Linked DNA regions of Homo sapiens: regions 2 and 3 are each linked to region 1. Evidence: promoter capture Hi-C in 16 types of primary human blood cells and fetal thymus (Javierre and others, 2016). All regions are on one chromosome and are shown on one strand. Each heading gives the region's core, a stretch centred on a gene start or on the middle of the fragment in contact. The rest is flanking DNA. Distances are from core to core; before and after follow the strand shown. Region 1 holds the start of MOGAT1 (monoacylglycerol O-acyltransferase 1). Region 2 overlaps WDFY1 (WD repeat and FYVE domain containing 1). Region 3 holds the start of AP1S3 (adaptor related protein complex 1 subunit sigma 3).

The links. The method cuts DNA at HindIII sites, captures the fragments that hold promoters and counts their contacts. A CHiCAGO score of 5 or more calls a contact.
Region 2: a contact is called between a fragment that was not itself captured here and the fragment with the promoter of MOGAT1 in region 1, in 2 of 17 cell types (M0 macrophages and M1 macrophages). The highest score is 5.2, in M0 macrophages.
Region 3: a contact is called between the fragment with the promoter of AP1S3 here and the fragment with the promoter of MOGAT1 in region 1, in 1 of 17 cell types (M0 macrophages). The highest score is 9.3, in M0 macrophages.

Annotation. Positions count from the first base shown.
Region 1 is chr2:222,669,420-222,673,913 of GRCh38, forward strand. It overlaps MOGAT1 (monoacylglycerol O-acyltransferase 1), which reads left to right and starts at 2,239. Exons shown (of 6, transcript NM_058165.3): 1 at 2,239-2,460. The coding sequence starts at 2,367. It overlaps LOC124907985 (a long non-coding RNA gene), which reads left to right. Exons shown (of 2, transcript XR_007088095.1): 2 at 1,217-1,583. The HindIII fragment of the contact is 3,409 bases long and covers 17-3,425 here.
Region 2 is chr2:223,924,270-223,928,763 of GRCh38, forward strand. All of the region lies in intron 1 of WDFY1 (WD repeat and FYVE domain containing 1), which reads right to left. Among named protein-coding and RNA genes, the nearest start is that of WDFY1, 19 kb to the right of the region's middle. The HindIII fragment of the contact is 2,720 bases long and covers 792-3,511 here.
Region 3 is chr2:223,835,085-223,839,578 of GRCh38, forward strand. It overlaps AP1S3 (adaptor related protein complex 1 subunit sigma 3), which reads right to left and starts at 2,498. Exons shown (of 5, transcript NM_001039569.2): 1 at 2,364-2,498. The coding sequence starts at 2,366. RefSeq lists enhancers at 1,905-1,994, 2,865-3,044 and silencers at 2,105-2,534, 2,565-2,694. The HindIII fragment of the contact is 4,145 bases long and covers 2,023-4,494 here.

The DNA.
Region 1 (4,494 bases), core at 989-3,488:
TGCCTAATACATAGAAAGCTTTCCACAAATAGTCAATAAGTAAATGTGTGTAAATTCTCAAAGGCACAGAGACCTCATCTTAATTCACGTTTGTGTCATCAGTACCAAGGACAATGCCCAAGGCAATGCAGGCACTCCATAAATGTTTGTTCTATGTTTGGTTCAGTTGATGAAGGGATGACTCGCCTCTCCAGGTTTTATAGAAATTTGAATCTTCTCTATTCTGCCATTTACCAGCTGTGTGACTTTAAGCCCTAATTTCCTCAGCTGCAAAGTTGAAGTGAATGCGTACTTTGTAGGGTTTTTGAGATTACGCCTGTGAGGTCTCTGCAGAGTGCCTGACATAGGGTGTGTTCGTAGTGTCCCCACCTAGCACTGGGGGAAGATTCAAGGAAGAAATCTAAAAGGAAAGAAGAAAGTGACTCCTTAAGTAGGAGGAAAAAGAAACCCAAACAAGTTTTGCATACAAAAAATCACAAACAACTCCTCCAAGTGGCCCTGGTATTTGTTTTAATCCAACTCCCTTTGTATTAAAATGTTGAAGGAGAAAAGGGCATAGGATGGGGGAGAAAGGAGGGCCAACTATATTGTTTTGCCCTGTTCCAAGTCCTCTTCAGCAATGACTTGACAGCTGCTCATCATTTTGAGTTTTTCAACTATGTGGTAATTAATATTTATAAATAAAGTGCAGTGGTTGCTCCCAAGGACTAGGCACTATTTAGAATCTAGCCATCCATTTAGCACATCGTAATTGAAACCCTTCAGTGTCTTGTACTGCTCTTGGGGTTCAAACTTGAACCCTAACTCAGTCTGCAAGGGTCTGGACCTTGCCCACCATTTTTGCCTGATGTCACCCCAATCTCACCCTTGTCCCCCAAGCTCTCACTCTTTGAGCTCTTCTTGGAGTTCAGCCACAGGACCTTTGCATATGTGCTTCCCTTTGCCCGGATGACTCCTGGGTTAACTAGATTTGGCTACAGCTCAAGTAAGGGCACTTCTTCAGACACTTCCCTGACCGTGCAGCAGTCTTGGTTTTGGAATCTTCTAGTCATTCACAGTAGGGTCTTACTTGTAATTATACACCAAATTGTGTAGTTGTTTTGCTTATGTCTGTTTCCCCCTGTACTCTGAGAACAAGACAATGAATAGCTTGTGTCAGGCCTCTGAGCCAAAGCTCAGCCATTATAACCTCTGTGACCTGCATGTACACATCCAGGTGGCCTGCAGGAGCCAAGAAGCCTGGAGCAGCCAAAAAAAACGCAAAGAAGTAAAACAGCCAGTTCCTGCCTTAACTGATTAACCAACATTACAACATTTTACCATTGTGACTTGTCCCTGCCCTACCTTAGCCGATCAATCGACTTTGTGACATTCTTCTTCTGGACAATGAGTCTTATGATCTCCCCACCCTGTACCTTGTGACCCCTTCCTCTGCTAACAATAGATAACCACCTTCTACTGTAATTTTCCATTACCTAGACAACTCCTATAAAGCAACCCCTTCCCCATCTCCCTTCGCTGACTCTTTTTCGGACTCAGCTGACTTGCACCTAAGTGAATAAACAGCCTTGTTGCTCACACAATGCCTGTTGGTGGTCTCTTCACACGGATGCGCTTGACAGCTTGGTTATCCAAGCGCCCGGATGGTGCTCAGCAAGTGGCAAGTGCTCAATAAATGTGGGTTGAATGAATGAATGGGTGAAAGATTCCCGGAGCTCCTGTAGGGAACTGAGGACCCAAGAGTGAGGAAGCCAGGTCCCCTTCCCCATCCGCGGGGAAATTGGAGGTTGCGGGGGGACACAGATCAATAAACTAAGAAACAAGTCTCGCTCATCTCTCCAGCTGGTGTGCGATTCCTCAAACTAACCCTTCCCCAATCACCGAGGGTTCGAATGAAGGGGTGGGATGCTGAAGGCAAGCGCTGGGTGATCGATCAGCTGAACAATGGTCAGATCCTGGTGGAGATCCCAGGTCCTCAGCCAGGCGGCAGGAGCCCGCGCTGCCCGGCTCGGGCTGGCTGCCAGTTGACCCCTCTCCCCGTCCCTCGTGTCCCACGCGGCGCACTCTCGCCAACGCCCGGCGCGCCAGCCAATGCGCCCGGGCCGCTGTAGCTGCTCCGGGGCCAGGGCGCTGGGCCAGCTCTGGCGCCCGGCGCTTGTGATTGGCTGCCCCCAGCCTCAGCCCAGCGCGCCCTCCCACCCAGGGCGCAGTTGGGTCCCCGCTCGCTGCCTAGCCTCTGCCTTTTCCTCTCCGCCCAGCCAGTGCCCAGCGCGGGGCCCGGATCCGGCCGGGCACTTCCCACAGGCGCCGCAGAGCAGCGTGGGTGCAGGCTGCAGTGGCTGGCGCCGTCCTCGCCCGGCCAGGCCATGAAGGTAGAGTTTGCACCGCTCAACATCCAGCTGGCGCGGCGGCTGCAGACGGTGGCCGTGCTGCAGTGGGTCCTGAAATACCTGCTGCTCGGTAAGGACCCCGCCCCCCGGGCCGCGGGGCTTGGGCTCCATATCCTCCCTCGGGACGGTCCGGATTCCAGGACCTGCATAGAACCTTCCAACCCTCGTTCCCCTGTCGGCCAGAGCAGGCAGGTCAAAGAGGGCATTTGGAGCTAACGTGGACTCTGGTTTCCTCACGAGAACCTCATCGCTAACGACTGTTTAATTTTATTTTCTCCTGCGTTACTTTTTTAAATTGAGGTGCACCTTGCCTACAATAAAAGGCGCAGTTATACGGATACAGCTCGATGACTTTTGGCGACTGTATCTACCAAAATGTAACCATGACCCCATCGAACGCATGAGCACTTTAACCCCTCAAAAGTTGGCAAACTCGTTTCTCGAACTGTTGATTCATAGATGGCAAAGTAATGCCTCAGTAGTTAAAACCTTGTTCCTTCTCCCTCTTTGTCTCCCCACCCTCCTGACAAAGAGCAGTGTTCCCTTTCCCGTTTTGGAGATTTCCTGGATGCATAGCAGTACCTTTCTGTAAAGAAGGCTGCACCACTCATTGCATTTGGTTGAGCGGTTTCTCTCTGGAAATAGTTTGACTCAGTAGCGTGTGTGTTCCAGTTGGTTCCCAAGTTGAGCCCATGAAACATACACGAGCCGAATCATTAGATGGGGCAAAAACGTGGGTGGTTTTTCTTTTTGTTTTTTGTTTTTTCCTTCATATTTGTTCTGCTCTTGAAGTAAATAGGGGTGATGTGGGAGGAGGGAGGAATTTGGGGGAGACCCTTCTATTGAAACATAAACTCTTCTGAAGACTAAGATCATGTGTATGCTGTAAGATCATGGATTGTACAGCGTTGGGGTGGTAATAATAGTAATAAGCCCATTGCATTGGAGAGTTTTACACTTTTAAAACTGCTTTTACATTTCGAAAGCCTGAATCAGTGGTTCTCAACCCTGGCTCTAGATGAGAATCACTGGAGAAGCTTCTAAAAAGTGCAGATGCCCAGGCTCCATCCTGGAATTTGTTTATTATTATTATTATTATTATTATTATTATTATTATCTTTGAGACGGAGTTTCACTCTTGTTGCCCACGCTGGAGTGCAGTGGCGCCATCTCGGCTCACCACAACCTCCGCCTCCCGGGTTCAAGTAATTCTTCTGCCTCAGCCTGCCGAGTAGCTGGGGTTACAGGCATGTGCCACCACATCTGGCTAATTTTGTCTTTTTAGTAGAGACGGGGTTTCTCCATGTTGGTCAGGGTGGTCTCGAACTCCCAATCTCAGGTGATCCGCCTGTCTCAGCCTCCCAAAGTGCTGGGATTACAGGCGTGAGCCACCGCGCCCGGCTCATCCCTGGAATTTCTAAGTCATTTGTTTCAGAATGAAGTCTGTACACCTTTTTTTTTTTCCTTTTTCCTCTTAAGAACTCTCCGAGTGACTCTCCTGTGCTGCTAGGTAGAATTTACCAAAAAAAAAAAAAAATGTAATTCAAAGTGTTAACTCATTAAGTCCTCACAGACTACACCGTGAGGCAGGGTTGCTCTGGATCAAAGCACCATGGAGATAACAACACACGACCTTATCTAGCGCTTGGTATGTGCCAGGTGCTGTTCTAAGCAACATCCACGATTAACTAGCAATCTTCACAACATCCCTGTGAGGTAAGGACTATTCCTACACTCCTGGTACAGATGAGGGAACTAAGAGATGAAGTAAATTGCTCAAGGCGATGCAGCTAGCAGGACGTGGTAGAGCTGGTTTCAAACCCAAGTATTCTGCCCAAAGTGTCTGCTTTAACCACTAAACTGCTCTCTTAAATGGCCTGAACTTGGAGTCCGACTTCCTAACCGATCATTCAACACATCTCTGATAGCCACTGTTCTTTTCTTTCATGGCACTTATCATTGCTTGTATCTGTGTATGGCTGTGGTGACTTCAGAAAGTTCTCTATGGCTGTCTTAGTCTACAAGCTTAGTGAGGAAACACACAGTATATGTCTGGCCCATGGAAGATATACACGAATACTTGAGATATACACAAATACTTGAG
Region 2 (4,494 bases), core at 902-3,401, 1.3 Mb after region 1:
AGCTGCAATATCTTCCAGGAACAGATGAGAAAAGGTATCTCCATATATGACTATGTTATACATATATAACTTACAGGGTATGCACGCCACTACCATCACTTTATTTATTTATTAAACAGAGTCTCACTCCATCACCCAGGCTGGAGCGGTATGGCACAAGTTCAGCTCACTGTAACCTCTGCCTCCTGGGTTCAAGCGATTCTCATGCCTCAGCCTCCCCAGCAGCTGAGATTACAGGCATGTGTCACCATGCCTGGCTAATTTTTGTATTTTTAGTACAGACAGGGTTTCACCATGTTGGCCAGGCTGGTCTTGGACTCCTGGCCTCAAGTGATCTGCCCGCCTCGGCCTCCCAAAGTGCTGGGATTACAGGTGTGAGCCACCGCACCTGGCCCCATGACTTTATTTGTTTATCATTGTTCAGCACTGTAGATGATTCATTTATTTTCCAAGTAAATAAAATTCCAAAATTGATTCTTTTTTATGCTAAATGTTTCAGATTAAAATGTTTTTAAAATGTACTGCTGTGCAGGGAAAGCAAAGGAACAACTCAAAACAATAACAAAATGCCACTTCTAGGGCTCTCATACTTCTTTGTCAGAATTGTAAATTAGAACTATTTGGCAAGAATTTTGCTCCAATATAGAGAGAAACAAATACACCTGCCCAATAATAATGACAACAACACTAATGATAAACTTTGATTAAGGAATTCCAGGCTTGGAAATTGGTTCTATAGAAATCATTTAATAGAATAAAAAAGGAACTACAAATTTAAAAAACTTCATATAAGCTTTATCCAAGGAGTAAAAATGGGGAAAATATGTTAAAGAATGAAATGGGTTAATGATAGAGTAATTCAATAGCTTATATAATCATTACAAATAGTTATGAAGTCCTGGAGCCCCAATAAAATGTTTATGAAATGGTCAGCTTTTTTGTTCCTAAAAAAAAAAAAAAAAAGCATAACACAGAGATTATTATAACCCTCAGAGATATTGCAGGTTTATCACAATAAAGCAAATGTCGCAACAAAGTGAGTCACACAAATTTTTGGTTTCCCATATGCAAGCTGTAGTTACACTATAGTCTGTTAAGTGTGCAGTAGCATTACATCTAAAAATCAATGTACATACCTTAGTTTTAAAATACTTTATTGCTAAAAAAAAGTTAACGATCATCTGAACCTTCAGCGAGGGGTAATCATTTTGCTGGTGGAGGGTCCTGCCTCAATGTTGATGCTGCTGATCCATCAGGATGGTTGTTGATGAAGGTTGGCGTGGCTGTGGCAACTTCTTAAAATAAGACAACCAAGAAGTTTGTTGCATCGATTGACTCTTCCTTTCCCAAAAGACTTCTCTGTAGCATGCAATGCAATTTAATAGCATTTTACCCATAATAGAACTTCTTTCAAAAGTGGAGTCAATCTTCTTAATGCCTGCTGCTCCTCCATCACCTAAGTTTATGGAATATTCTAAATCTTTTGCTGCCATTTCAACAATGTTCACCGCATCTTCATTAGATGTTGATTCCATCTCAAGAAACCACTTTCTTTGCTCATCCATATGAAACTCTTTAAACATTCAGCTTTTATCATGAGATTACAACAATTCAGTCACATCTATATGTTCCACTTCTAATTCTAATTCTCTTGCTATTTCCACATCTGCAGTTACTGAAGGCTTGAACCCCTCAAAGTTATCCATGAGGGCTGGAATCAACTTCTTCCAAATTCCTATTAATACTGACAGTTTAACCTTCTCTCAAGAATCATGAATGTTCTCAATGACATCTAGAATGGTGAATCCTTTCCAGAAGGTTTTCAACTTACTTTGCCCAGATCTATCAGAGGCACTATCTACGGCAGTTATAGCCTTATAAAAAAATTTTCTTTTGAGACAGGGTCTCCCTCGGTTACTCAGGCTGGAGTGCAGTAGCACAATCAAGGCTCACTGCAACCTATGCTTCCCAGGCTCCAGGGATCCTCCCACCTCAGGTTCCCCAGTAACTGGGACTACAGGCACACACCACGACACCTGGCTAACTTTTTTAAGGCTTTTATAAAGTCTCATTCTACTGCCCAGGCTGGTCACTCAAGTGATCCTGCCACCTCAGCCTCCCAAAGTGCTGAGACTACAAGCATGAGCCAGTATGCCCAGCAAAAGTGTATTTTTTAAATCACAAAACTTGAAAGTTGAAATTACTCCTTGATCCATGAGCTACAGAATGAGTGTTGTATTAGCAGGCATGAAAAACAACATTAATCTCATGGTATGTCTCCATCCTCAGAGTTCTTGGGTGACTAGGTGCATTTTCAATAAGCAAATATACATACATTTACATATATATGTGTGTGTATTTCATATATATACAAATATGTGCGTGTGTGTGTGTGTGTGTGTGTATGTGTATTTTTGAAACAGAGTCTCACTCCATCACCCAGGCTGGAGTGCAGTGGCACAATCTCAGCTCACTGAAACCTCTGCCTCCTAGGCTCAAGCGATTCTCATGCTTCAGCCTCCTGAGCAGCTGGACTTACAGATGTGCAAAACTGTGCCTGGCTAATTTTTGTATTTTTAGTAGAGCCGGGATTTTGCCATGTTGGCCAGGCTGGTGTCGAACTCCTGACCTCAAGTGATCTGTCTGCTTCGGCCTCCCAAAGTGCTGGTATTACAGGTGTCAGCCACCGTTTCCGGCCAACAAGCAATAATATTTTGAAAGGAATCTTTTTTTCTGAGCAGTAGGTCTCAACAATGGGCCTAAAATATTCAGTAAACCATGCTGTCAACACACATGTTGTCATCCAGGCTTTGTTGTTCCATTTATAGAGCACATGGCAAAGTAGACTTAACATAATTCTTAATGGTCTTAGGATTTTTGGAATGGTTAATGAGCAATGACTTCAACTTAAAGTTACCAGCTGCATTAGCCACAGAAGAAAGTCAACCTATCTTTTGGAGCTTTGAAGCCAGGCACTGACTTCTCTACTAGCTATGAAAGTCCTAGATGGCATCTTCTTCCAAAAGAATTGTTTGGTCTGCATTGAAAATCTATTGTTTAATGTAATTGCTTTTGCCAATTATCTTCACTAGATCTTCTGGATAACTTGCTGCAGCTTCTACATTAGCACTTGATGCTTCACTTTGCACTTTTATGTTATGTAGACTGCTTCTTTCCTTAAACCTAATGTGCCAATTCTGCTAGCTTCAAACTTTTCTTCTGTAGCTTCCTCACCCCTCTCAGGCTTCATAAAATCGAAGAGGATTAAGGCCTTGCTCTGGATGAGGCTTTGGCTTAAGAGAATGTTGTGGCTGGTCTGATCTTCTATTCAGATCACTAAACCTTTCTCCGTATCATCAATAAGGCTGTTTTGCTTTCTTATTCATGTTTTCACTAGATTAGCACTTTTAATTTCCTTCAAGAACTTTTCATTTGCATCCATAACTTGGCTGTTTGGTGCAAAAGGCCTAGCTTTCGGCCTGTCTCAGCTTTTGATGTGCCTTCCTCACTAAGCTTAATCATTTCTAACGTTTGATTTAAAGTTAGAGATATGTGACTCTTCCTTTCACTTGAACACTCAGAGGCTATTGTAGGGTTATTCACTGGCCTAATTTCAATATTGTTGTGTCTCAGGGAATAAGGAGGCCTGGGGGGAAAGGGGGAAAGGAGGGAGGCAGGGAAAGAGGGAGGGAGAGAGAGAGAGACAGACAGACATAGGGTAACAGCCCGTTGATGGAGTATTCAGATCACACACACTATCATTTAAGTTTGCCATCTTATGTGGGCACAGTTTGTGGCTCCCCAAAACAATTACAATAGTAATATCAAAGATCACTGAACACAGACCACCACAACAGATATAATAATAAAGTTTGGAATATTGCAAGAATTACCAAAATGTGACACAGAGACACAAAGTGAGCACAATGTATTGGAAAAATGGCACAGATAGACTTGCCTGGTGCATGGTTGCCATAAACCTTCAATGTGTACAAAATGCAGTATCTGAGAAGCACAATAAAACAAGGTATGCTTGTATCAAATCATATAACTAAATTATGCAACCACACTACATCAGGCTGGGCAGGGCAGGTAGGGAGGCTGATAAAGGACAGGAGAAGGGGAGGAGAAGAGAACCCACCTCCAAGGCAGACAATGTCCTGGGCTCCTTGTGAGAACCCCAGAGAAAAGATACGGAGGCTGAGTTCTGGCAGAACAGCAGGATACCTGCTGACCGACCTCCCCAGTGAGCCACAATTAAACATTTTGCGCAATGAGCCTTGAGGCACTTAGGGACTTATTTTATGTGGTTTTCAAGAGTGGCTACCTAAAATTCTACATGTTAAAATGTTCCACTCCCTAAGAGTCTATCCTTTAAATTGCTGTCCCCACCAAAAGCAAAAACAGAAGTCATTGGAATCCGAAGCAATTTCAAATATAGTGGCACAACTTTCCTTTTTTCCATAAGGCAGATGCCAGAGGCTTCAGTTGTCC
Region 3 (4,494 bases), core at 1,248-3,747, 1.2 Mb after region 1:
CCAGTAAAAGTCTTGGGGACTGCTGGGGGTACCCAGGTCACACTTTCAGAACCTCTGCCTTATGAGTTAGGAGATATTATCTCCATTTTTCAAATGGGCAAACTGAGACAGAGAGGTCAAGGAATTGTCCAAGGCCATACTGCTAGAATAGCTCAGAGTAGCTAAAATGCAATGAGCATAACAGATTTAACCTCAATTGTTTGTTGCAAGGATTGAATGAGATCGTGAATATAAAGAGCAGGACATCCTGCTTGTCTTATCACAAATGCCCAATAACATTAATGTTTCCCCGCCAGGTGCGGTGGCTCATGCCTGTAATGCCAGCACTTTGGGAGGCCGATGCAGGTGGATCACGAGGTCAGGAGTTTGAGACCAGCCTGGCCAACATGGCAAAACCCCGTCTCTACTAAAAATACAAAAATTAGCTAGGCGTGGTGGCGGGCGCCTGTAATCCCAGCTACTTAGGAGGCTGAGGCAGGAGAATTGCTTGAACTCGGGAGATGGAGGTTGCAGTGAGCCAAGATCATGCCACTGCACTTCAGCCTGGGTGACAGAGCAAGATTCCGTCTCGAAGAAAAAAAAATAATAATAATGTTTCCCATTTAGCAAAAACTGGTAGAAAAGCTGGAGAAACTTCCCACATTTCTGATCAACTCATCACACATATGACACCAGCAAGAAAAAATAAAACTCCACCACAGGTATTGTCCAGAGGAGCAGCTTTTCCTTATAGACCAAACCTTGGCCCATTCCTCAGCACAAAAGCAGCCTTTGATGACTCAGAAACGCAGGGCCTTATTCCAGCCTCTGTTAGGCAAATTACACTGGTGGACTGGGCATCTGTCACCTTGTTCCTTGGGAAACTTGAGCAAGCCAAGAAACCTGCTCCATTATTTACAGCATTGTTTTTGCATCACGCTGTATTTACAAGGAACCCTCAACAGACAAAAATGATGCCGCTAGTGTGTGCAGCCAAACCTTTAACAGAAACCAGCAACTGCGGTCTTGCTGGCCAGGTGCTCAGCACTCCCCGGCTCTCTTTGTTGATCAACTTTCTTAGCCCACGTGGCCCACCCACTCCTGCCTCCGGTGGGCCCACAGGGTGCAGGTCACTTCCCTTCTGCGGATTTGGGAAGTGGTAACACACTTGGGGAAGTGGGACTAGTGACGTTCAGACCACCACACTCTTAAAAGGCTGCCCCTAAACAGCAGGCAAGAGCAAGAGGAGCCTGAGCTATCGCTTCCACCCAAGTGCAGGTCACCAGATCTCTCATCAGCAGGGCTGCGGCCGGCCTCAGCTTCCAACCTGACCCCCTATCCCCTGCCCTTACACACCCCAGTCCATTCTCCAACCACAGCCAAACTGCACACCATGCCGGGTGCAGTGGCTCACCCCTGTAATCCCTACACTTTGGGAGGCCGAGGCAGGCGGATCACCTGAGGTCAGGAGTTCGAGACCAGCCTGGCCAACATGGTGAAACCCCGTCTCTACTAAAAATACAAAAATTAGCTGGGTGTGGTGGCACACGCCTGTAATCCCCGTTACTCGGGAGGCTGAGGCAGGAGAATCGCTTGAACCCGGGAGGCAGAGCCGAGACCACACCACTGCACTTCAGCCTGGGCGACAGAGCGAGATCAGTCTCAAAAAAACAAAAGTGCACAACGGGTAAGGTCAGTTTTCTTGCTAAAACGTCCCCGAGGTTTCCCCTACTCAGTTGGAACCAAAACCAAACTCCTTATTTTGGCCTATAAAAACCCGCCTCACCTGGCAGAAGCCCACCTCTCCTGCCACAAACAAGGCCTTCTCCCCTCCGCTTTGCTCTCTCTAATCCACCTGTAGCGCCCCTCCAGGACCTCCAGCAGCTAGAATGTCATGTCCTTGAAGAGGCTTTGCCAAATCAAAAGTTGCCACTCCACCCGGTTGTATTTGAGACTTTACAGCGCTTCTTACTTTAGAAGTTCTCTTCATTTTACTTGTATATTGGACGTGTCCCTCCCTCCGCATCCCCCTCCTGGAAGGTAAGCTTCCTGGAGAACAGGGGCTCCTCCTGGTCCCCCGCGACATCCCCAGCGCCCAGCACCGAGCCCGGCACAGACTAAGCACTCGGCTAAGGCGGATCGAATGAATGAATGGAGCCGCGGCGCCGCGGCGCCGCGTTGCCGCAGGAATCCCGGGCAAGCGATCCTGGCGCGTCCGCACCGTCTGGGGCAGCGGGGCCACAGGGACGCACGGTTCGGGTGGCCAGGCGGGACTCGGCCCGCACCCCCACCCGGCCGCGCGCCCGGCCCGGACGCCCCAGGTGCCTCCCCGGAGCGCGAGCGCCCCCACCGCCTACCCGGGCCGGCGGTTCCCCCGCACTCACCATCGTGGCTGGGCCGCCGCCTCCCCCGCCTTGCGAGCAAGGAGCGCTGGAGAAGCGAGGGCGAGAGGCGAGCGCTGGAGCCGGTGCGGCTGACAGGTGAGGCGCCCGGCTTAGACCATGGCTGCTTCCCACAATGCCCTGGCACTGAAAGTGTGCAGACTCCTCCCAGCGCGGCTGCCTCCTCCCTGCACGCTCCTCCCCGCTGCCTCCTCCCCGCGCCCTCCTCCCCGCTCCCCCCGCTCCTCGCCCTCCTGCTCTCCTTCTTTCTTCCTTTCCCCTTTCTCCTCCCTTCTCCTCCTCCTCCTCCTCTTCCCTCCTTTCTGCCTCTCCTCTGTACCCCCTCCCCGCCCCCGCCTCGGCTGCAGCTGTTCCCGCCCCGAGCCGGCCGCACCTGGAGCGAATGCACCTGCGCGCGCGGGCGTCTGTACCCCGACAGCCCGCAGCTCGGCGCGGGTGGTCAGGCGAGAGCGCGTGGCCCGCTAGGAACTCCCTGCGCGGGGAACTCCCTGCGCGGAGAACACCGGGGACTTTTCGCGATTCTGCCGCGCGAGTGTGTCCTGTATTCCTTCCGCAAACGTTTATCAAACCTGGCAAAGATACTTCCGATACACTCGCAGAAAGTGCCGGGGGCTGCCTTATCCTAAGCCTCCTAGGGAGGGAGCAGTTGGAAGAGAAAGAACTAGAAGCGTTTTCTTATCCCCTTCTGCCCCCATTTCACTTTTTAAAAAGTAAGCTCTGCAGTCTAAGGGCAAAGATCATTTTAAGCAGGCCCCCATTTATTTATTTATTTATTTATTTATTTATTTATTTATTTATTTATTTAGAGACGGAGTGTCGCTCTGTCGCCCCGTCTGGAGTGCAGTGGGGCGATCTCGGCTCCCTGCAACCTCCGCCTCCTGCGTTCAGGGTGATCCACCCGCCTCGGCCTCCCAAAGTGCTGGGATTACAGGCATGAGCCACTGCGCCCGGCAGCACGACCCCCTTTTAAGAAGTCTCTCCTAAGAAGTTGTGGTGTAGAAAGTTCGTTCTCCAATCTCTCCTCCCCTTGACTTTTCTTAAATCTAGGGCGTTGAGAGTCTCTAAACCCCCAAGCTGTAAACAGAGTTTTTTCTTTTTTCTTTTAATTATATTTACCAGATAGACTAGATGTAAGCAGAGTTTTTAATGCATATTCATGTTTTTGAGAAAGGGAGTCCACTGGTTTTATCAAATAGCTAAAGAGATCCTAGACCCTGCAAAAGTTAAGAATCATTTCCTGGGCCAGGCGTGATGGTTCATGCCTGTAATCCCAACACTTTGGGAGGCCCAGGTGGGCGGATCGCTTGAGACCAGAAGTTCGAGACAAGCCTGGCCAACATGGTGAAACGCCGTCTCTACTAAAAATACAAAATTTAGCTGGGCGTGGTGGCACACGCCTGTAGTCCCAGCTACTAGGGAGGCTGAGGCAGGAGAGAATCGCTTGAACCCGGGAGACAAAGGTTGCAGTGAGCTGAGATCATCCAGCCTAGGTAACAGAGTGAGACTCAGTCTGAAAAAAAAAATGTCATTTCCTGGGTGGTCCCTGGAACCCCAAATCAGTGAAAGTCCTTCCCAGGATGTGTTGTGTACCTTCCTAGGGATGTAGGCCCACCCAGGTGACTGAAAATATGGGAAACTCCATCCACCCCTGCATTCACACTGCAAATATTCATCACTCTAGGCCAGGCCCTACAACAGGAGCCTGGGGGACCCAGCTGGGAACAAACAGGTGGTCTGTCTCCTGGAGCTTACGTCTCTTGTGGGACAACACATAATAAACAAGTAAATAAAATATAAGAAATTAAGATGAGTGCTAAGAAGGAGATATTTGAGTTCCTCGGATGGGCACAGGGAAGCTACATTGATTTAGCTGAGTGGTCAGGTAAGTGCCCCCTGGGGAGGTGACAGAAGACTTGGATGTGAGAAGCCAGCGCTCTGAAGAAGAAGAAAAAAAAGTCCTTCTGGAAACACTTCAAAAAAGGCCTCTATGTGAGTTAAGTGCCAGGAGGCCTAGAGGTGGGCAGGGGCCAGAGGCAATGAGTGTTCTCTACATTAGGGCATCACTGCAAGCCCCCAGGAGAGCCACAGCCTCCAGCCTCAAAGCTCTCAAACC